Regions from separate parts of the Homo sapiens genome. Here region 1 is linked to region 2. The links are contacts of gene promoters, found by promoter capture Hi-C in human tissues and cell types (Jung and others, 2019). All regions are on one chromosome and are shown on one strand. Each heading gives the region's core, a stretch centred on a gene start or on the middle of the fragment in contact. The rest is flanking DNA. Distances are from core to core; before and after follow the strand shown. Region 1 overlaps RSRC2 (arginine and serine rich coiled-coil 2). Region 2 holds the start of DIABLO (diablo IAP-binding mitochondrial protein).

What was found. Contacts are between HindIII fragments. The study calls those that stand out against the background at their distance.
Region 1: a fragment that was not itself captured here is called in contact with the fragment with the promoter of DIABLO in region 2 in 6 of the 25 tissues and cell types used here (IMR-90 fibroblasts, adrenal gland, aorta and 3 more).

Annotation. Positions count from the first base shown.
Region 1 is chr12:122,505,700-122,509,557 of GRCh38, forward strand. It overlaps RSRC2 (arginine and serine rich coiled-coil 2), which reads right to left. Exons shown (of 10, transcript NM_023012.6): 8 at 2,519-2,748; 9 at 1,135-1,224; 10 at 1-7. Among named protein-coding and RNA genes, the nearest start is that of ZCCHC8, 6.7 kb to the left of the region's middle. The HindIII fragment of the contact is 4,115 bases long and covers 1-3,858 here.
Region 2 is chr12:122,223,606-122,227,388 of GRCh38, forward strand. It overlaps DIABLO (diablo IAP-binding mitochondrial protein), which reads right to left and starts at 2,447. Exons shown (of 6, transcript NM_001371333.1): 1 at 2,360-2,447; 2 at 907-1,039. The coding sequence starts at 2,409. LOC128125816 reads right to left here and starts at 2,959. Exons shown (of 1, transcript NM_001414998.1): 1 at 2,825-2,959. The coding sequence starts at 2,959. The coding sequence ends at 2,825. LOC101593348 (a long non-coding RNA gene) reads left to right here and starts at 2,837. Exons shown (of 1, transcript NR_103497.1): 1 at 2,837-3,783. RefSeq lists enhancers at 849-1,754, 2,164-2,213, 2,224-2,463, 2,517-2,811, 2,761-3,592 and 1 more and a silencer at 2,754-2,893. The HindIII fragment of the contact is 13,255 bases long and covers 1-3,783 here.

The DNA.
Region 1 (3,858 bases), core at 691-3,190, 280 kb after region 2:
CTTCACTCTAAAAATCAGACATAAAACATTACAATGAATTCAGATGGAGATAAATATTCTCTCACTTGACACTATTTTTTATGTATTTTTTTTTTTTGAGATGGAGTCTTGCTCTGTTGTCCCGTCTGGAGTGCAGTGGTGCCATCTCGGCTCACTGCAACCTCTGCCTCCTGGGTTTAAGTAATTCTTATGCCTCAGCCTCCCAAATAGCTGGGATTAGAGGCACATGCCACCACGCCCAGCTAATTTTTGTATTTTCAGTAGAGACGGGGTTTCACCACATTGGTCAGGCTGGTCTCGAACTCCTGACCTCAGGGATCCCCCCTGCCGCCTGCCCCCCGGCCTCCCGAAGTGTTGGGATTACAGGTGTGAACTAGGCTGACACTATTAAATTATACTTTTGGCCGGGTGCAGTGTGGCTCACGCCTGTAATCCCAGCACTTTGGGAGGCTGAGACGGGTGGATCACCTGAGGTCAGGATTTCGAGACTAGCCTGGCCAACATGGTGAAACCCCGTCTATACTAAAAACAAAAAACAAACAAACAAAAATATACTTTTGGGATATGTATTTGATCTCAATAACTTAATTTCCATTCATTATTGAACACCTCCAAAGGACAAGGCAATGTTCTTTCTAGGTCTGGAATATAGCAGGGTGTAACAAAAGTTAACTTCAGTTTAGTAGGTTGGAAAAAACATAATATGTAGAAGATGTCAGGGTATAAATGCCACAGAGGAAAGTAAAGTAGAAAATGGGGATGGAGGCTGGGCGCAGTGGCTCAGAACTGTGATCCAGGGCTTTGAGAGGCCGAGGTGGAAGGACTGCTTGAGCCTCGAAGTTTAAGGCTGCAGTGAGGTATGACTGCACCACTGTACTCCAGCCCAAGTGACAGAGCAAGCAGAGCAAAACCCCGTCTCTCTCTCTCTCTCCAAGTGTGTGTGTAGGGAGGACAGTGGGTAGGGGAGATGGAAATGTTTCAGAATGGGATTGCTTGTTATTTCACAAAAGGTGGTGGGAAAGAACTCAAAAACGCTGACACCTGAGTAAAGACCAGAACTAAGAAAATGAGGGAAGAACAGTGCAGGAGGGCTAATAGCTAATACAAAGATCCCCTGGCACATGTGAAACTCACCTTAATACCCATCAATTTCCTAAATTTGACATTTTGGTCCTTGTTTCCAAAATTCAATTTTTCCCATATTTCAGCAGATTGGGATTTGTCCTGTTAACAAACACTGAACTTTAAAATATGTAAAATTTAAATATTTTTTAGGACATGAAATCTCTCAACAATGTCTAAATTAAAAAAAAAAACACCATGGATAGCATTCAATCAATGTAAGTTTAATTATTTCAAGACTTAAGAAACCACAAAGCAAAGAAATACAAGCAAGAGGTTGGCGCCGTGCTTCACTCCTATAATCCCAGCACTTTGGAAGGCCGAGGTGGGCAAATCACCTGAGGTCAGGGGATCGAGACTAGCCTGGATGACTAGGTGAAACCCCGTCTCTACTAAAAATACAAAAAACTAGCCTGGCATGGTGGTGGGCACCTGTAGACCCAGGAGGGTCTCAGGAGTCTGAGGCAGGAGAATTGCTTGAACCTGGGAGGCAGAGGTTGCAGTGAGCTGAGATCACACCACTGCATTCCAGCCTGGGTGACAAGAGCAAGACTCTGTCTCAAAAATAATAAAAATAAAATAAAAAAATGGATTATTTTCCTGTCATAGACCTTTTTCAACATGCAATTTTTGCGACTGCATGTCATTTGCATTTAATGTCATTTGTCATTGCAAATAATGTCAAAAAAAAAAAAGTACCTCATAATCTATGAAAAATTCTAAACCAAGTAGCCTCTTTTCCTTACTACTTCTATGGTAATATTAGTTTTCTTTGAAAGCTTGACTTCAATCAATTATGTTTTATTTTAGTATTAATAACTGGCAAATAAGACTATCATAGCTTATTATAAGTTTTTTGAGACAGGGTCTCACCCAGGCTGAAGTGCAGTGGCGTGATTTTTTTTTTTTTTTTCCAGATGGAGTTTCGCTGGAAACTCACTGCAACCTCCGCCTCCCAGGATCAAGTGATTCTCCTGTTTCAGCCTCCCAAGTAGCTGGGATTACAGGTGCCCACCACCATGCCTGGCTAAGTGGCATGATCTTGGCTCACTGTATGTAGGCTCTGCATCCCAGGCTCAAGCGATTCTCCTGCCTCAGCCTCCCAAGCACCTGGGATTACAGGTGTGTGCCACCACACCCAGCTGATTTTTATCTTCTTTTCAGTAGAGACAGGGTTTTGCCATGTTGGCCAGGCTGGTCTTGGACTCCTTACCTCAACTGATCCGCTCACTTGGCATCCCAAAGTGCTGGGATTAAAGGCATAAGCCACCCGCGTCTGGCCACCCCAGGTTCTTACAAAGTTAAGCCGAAAGTAATATTTTTCAACCCAAATTTGTTTTTCTAAGCAATTACTAATTAGGAATAAACGACAGAAAAGCAGAATAAGAGAACTTACCCCTTCTTTCTTGCCCTGCCAAAGCATTTTCCTTTTTTTCTCTTGTTCAGCAAATTTCATTGGATTAACAGCGGCTGGGTTATAGTAGCTAGGAACAGCTATTCCTGTCTCTGCCAAAGCTTTAGCTTGCAGGGCTGCCATCTGAGCTGCCATGGCTATCTGAGGTGTTACTTGTGTTCCTGATGCCAACAGGGCAGCAACATTGAGAACAGAACCTCCAGTAGCTGCAGCTGCTTGAAGAGAATACAAAAATGGATTTTAAAACGATTTTAAAACATAAACCTCCTGATTTACATTAACGAACGATTTATAAAAAGCTATGAATGTGCAAAAAGGCAGGATTTTCACCAAATCCAAGGAAATGACTGAGTATTAGCTCACAAGTTTTTAGCAAACATTTATTGTGTTCATCAACGGACATATTTCTACATAAACCCTTGATATATAAACCATTTATTGCAAGGCGCAGTGGCTCACGCCTGTAATCCCAGCACTTTGGGAGGCTGAGGTGGGCGGATCACCTGAGGTTGGGAGTTCGAGACCAGCCTGACCAACATGGAGAAACCCCGTCTCTACCAAAAATACAAAATTAGCCGGGCGTGGTGGTACATGCCCGTAATCTCAGCTACTCGGGAGGCTGACGCAGGAGAATCACTTGAACCCAAAAGGCGAAGGTTGCAGTGAGTCGAGATCATGCCACTGCACTCCAGCCTGGGCAACAAGAGCGAAACTCCGTATCAAAACAAAAAAAAAACCCATTTATTTACTTTGAGGATAGAGAATTCTGCAAATAGTAAGAAAGTATGATTTCAGTGGAGATGAACTATAGTGTTTCTAAGGTATAATTACAAAACAATAAAACCTTGTATTTTTTTAAATTTATGAAATGTTCTCATGGACATTTCATTTGATGCTCACATCATATACTTGAAAAACAGTATGCAGCTAAGGCTGGGCGCAGTGGCTCACGTCTGTAATCCCAGCACTTTAGGAGGCCAAGACAGGCGGATCACAAGGTCAGGAGTTCGAGACCAGCCTGGCCAACATAGTGAAACCCCGTCTCAAATAAAAACTACAAAAAAATTAGCCAGGCGTGGTGGCAGGCGCCTATAAGCCCAGGTACTCAGGAGGCTGAGGCAGGAGAATCACTTGAACCCGAGAGGTGGAGGTTGTTGTGAGTCAGGATTGTGCCACTGTACTCCAGCACAGGCGACAGTATGAGCCTCCGTCTCAAAAAAAAAAACAAAAACAAAAACAAAAAAAAACCCAAAAACAACAACAGTATGCAGGTATTATGCTAAGTCCAAGTTCAATAAAGCCCTGGTATTTCCACTGTGATT
Region 2 (3,783 bases), core at 1,197-3,696:
GACATACCAGGCATACTTCTGCTTCTAGGTCTTTGTCCTTCTGAGTTCCTTCTGCCTGGCAAGCTCCTCCCCGCACCAGATAGTATAATGGCTCTTTCAGAACATTCAGATCTCTACTTCGCCTTATCAGAGTAGCTTGACCACCTTTATCTAAAACAAAACTCCCTCCCAGAATTGCCTATTCACTTACCTCATTTGTTTTGTTTTGTTTTTGAGAAAAGGTCTTGCCCTGTCACCCAGGCTGGAGAGCAGTGGTGAGATCATAGCTCACTGCAGCCTCAAACTCCTGGGCTCAAGTGATCTTCCTGCCTCAGCCTCCTGAGTAGTTGCCACTAGAAGTGTGAGCCACCACACCCGGCTAAATTTTTCTGTTTTGTAGAGACAGAGTCTCCCTATGTTGACTAGGCTGGTCTCAAACTCCTGAGCTCAAGCCATCCTCCCACCTCAGCCTCCCAAAGCCCTGGGCATCAGCCACTGTGCCCGGCCCTGTTTTCTTCCCACCATTTATCACCAGCTGATATTTTATATTTTATCCTCTTTCATCTCCACAAAGCTTTTGTGAGAACAAGAATTTTTTGTTGTTCATTCTTACATTCTCAGTGTCTTGCACATAAAAGTTGCTCAATAAATTTCTGTTGAATCAAAGACTACTTTGTTGATAGACTGTAATATCCTCTTATTTCTCTCTACTCGCTTTATACAATTTGATGTGCTGTTCCTACCAAATGAGATAATCAAAATGAGAATATTAATATATCTGCTCAACTGTGAAAAGATGCCGGTACTGTGGGGGAAGGGATGGGAGCACTGGGAAAAACTATGGTAGCTTGTCTAATGCTTCACCGCCCACTTGAGACTTCAAGAGGACACGGTACACTAGATAAGAATCACTGCACACGACAGTACCTGTGCAATAGGAACCGCACACAGGGTTACTCCAAAGCCAATCGTCACAGTTTTGTGCCATGGTCTTATCAATTCTGAGAAACACCGCTTCTTAAAGTTAGCCACAACAGGAACACACAAACACTGTCTGTACCTGGAAGTAGAAGTCAGATTTCATAAGGCACGACCGCCAATCTGTAACAGGCTCTTGGATTTACTTGCAGGGGCTGTAAACTCAAACTCGAGCCAAGCAGGAACCTAAATGAGGATGCAGGACAGCTGAGGGGTTTTGAAATTTTCAACATACACCAAGTTTAAAATGTTGCCTCAGGCAGGGTGTTGGTGGCTCACGCCTGTAATCCTAGCACTTGGAAGGCCAAGGGCAAGGCGGGAGGATCACTTGAGCCCAGGAGTTCACGACCAGCCTGGGCAACATGGCTGGCAACATGACCCCGTGTCTATTAAAAAAAAATAAGTAAATAAAGGCCGAGGCGGGTGGATCACTTGAGGTCAGGAATTCGAAATCTGCCTGACCAACATGGTGAAACCCCATCTCTACTTAAAACACAAAAATTAGCCCGGAGTGGTGGCACGCTCCTGTAATCCCAGCTACTCGGGAGGCTGAGGCAGGAGAATCGCTTGAACCTGGGAGGCAGAGGTTGCAGTGAGCCGAGAGCGCCCCACTGCACTTCAGCCTGGGCAACAGAGCGAGACTGAGTCTCAAACAAAACAAAAAGAAAAAAAAAAATTAGCCGGGCGTGGTGGCGGGCGCCTGCAATCCCAGCTACTCGGGAGGCTGAGGCTGAGAATCGCTTGAAGCCGGGAGGCACAGGTTGCAGTGAGCTGAGATCTCGCCACTGCACTCCAGCCTGGGCGACAGAGGCAGATCTTGTCTCAAAAAAATTAAAATAAAATAAAATGTTGCCTTTAAACTTTTTAGAAACGGATGCCACAATAACCGCTCCTGCAGGCAGAATTTAGCTCTGGACCCCTGGCCTGGGTGCCAGTTGTGTGTGACGGTCCCGCTACAATCGCCCAGGAGCCTGCAGCGCTAGGTAGAGAGCCCTGCGCCAGCTCCCCCGGCCCCTTCTGCCCTCGGGAGGACGTCTTCAGACGCTCGTCTCCCTTCCCGGACTCCCCCCATGCCGTGTCCCTCCTCCTCTCCACGTCTCCTCAGGGACTTCGAGTGGCTGACGAGGGCTGGTCAGGAGGCGGAGCAGCCCCAAGAAGGCAGCCCGGGGTCTCGGGGACTCGTTTCTAGAAGATGGACGAACTGAAAAGGAAGCCGGGCTTGACCCAGGGGGCGGAGGCGGGGCTGTCCTCAGTCCTCCCGACCGGAGCGAGACGCCGCGACCCAGCTGGGCGGACGAGAGATGAGCGCGTAAGGAAGGCGGGCGCCGTGGGCCGGGCCACAGCGCTGTCCGCGTCGGTCCCTCCCTCTGGTCCTGTCCCCTCTACGCGGCCGCAGCGGTACCTGAAGAATGAAGTTACGCTGCGCGACAGCCAACTCTTCAGAGCCGCCATTGTGCAGCGCGCGGACGCCAGACGCACACGCCGGAAGTGACGCAGCTTCGTGAGCGCGGAGCGGGGCACGGCCTCCACCTGAGAGCGCCTCGCCCCATAGCCACGCCCCCACCCAAGGAAGCAGTCGGGATTGGGCAGGCAGGGGGAAAGGGGGCGAGGCTTAGGGCAAAGGCTGTAACGGCCGCGCAAGGCAACCAACCGCCGGAACTTCCGCGCGGGGCGGGGCATATGCAGGGCCTGAGGGCGCGGAGGTGGGTCCGGCGCGGAGCTGAGTCGGGCGCCGTGACGCTGGCGGGTGGGCGGGGACTCAGTTCGGGCCAGGGCTTGAAGGGAATTTCCTGGTGAGTTAGGGAGGCGGGGCCGGGCGGGAGGCGGGGCCGGGCGGGAGGCGGGGCCGGGCGCGGCGACGGCGCTGTCACTTCAGCACCAGGAAGTAAGTGGTCCAGCCGGCCAGCAGCAGCGCCCCGATGAGCACCGTGTAGCTGAGGAGCACGAAGGCGAGCAGCTCCCGCAGCAGCTGCAGCACGTGGACGGTGGACGAGGCCGGCATCGCGCTGCGCGGGAGCCCCAGGACGGTCGGCGGCCTGCCGGGCTGGCGCCGTCCCAGAGGGGCGGACGGGAACACACGAGGTCCTGGCCCTCGAAACAGCAAACGAAGGCCAGGAAGCCCACAGTGCCGACCTCCCCAACAGCCTCCTGGACGCTCGCTTCTCGGTTACACTGGAGAATCCTTCTCAACCCAAACTGCCCTCGTTCTTCGGCTCTGATCCGGGCTGAGGAGGCAGAAGCCCGGCTCTTCCCCGCGCCCCGCAGCTGCATGAGTTTTCCTCCCTGGCCCGCTCCTCCCACCACCTCCTGCATTTTTAATGCTGTGAGTGCCGCTAATGCGCTGGTGGAGTAAACCTTTCTTTTCCCGTCACTCAAGCTGCAGCCCCAGCTGCGGCCCTGGCTGGAAGGGGAAGGGGAGAGAGACCCATTTGGGCAGGAGGAAGGCACAGGCCCAAACCTGCTCTTCTGTGAGTCCCCTGGCCCCAAGGCTTGCCAGCAGCAGAGCTGGAGGATCTTTGCTTTGTGGTCCAGCATGCTTGCCTTCTGGCCAGCTGGGACTGCAGGGTGCCAGGTGGTGGGTGGGCATCAATCCGATCCTGGGCTCACCCCCGCCACCGTGCTCTGTGCATCTGCCCCAGCCCTGCTAACTTCCACCAGAGACGACATCAGACAGTAAGAACCCCACACCAGCTCATCAGACAGTAGGAACCCTACAACACCTCCAATGCTGCTTTGCCCAGCCACTCCCCACAGTGTCAGGCACTGGCTTCCTTCTCTCCCCACCTCACTTACTTGGCAAAGTTTCCACGAATCTTCCACCCTGAA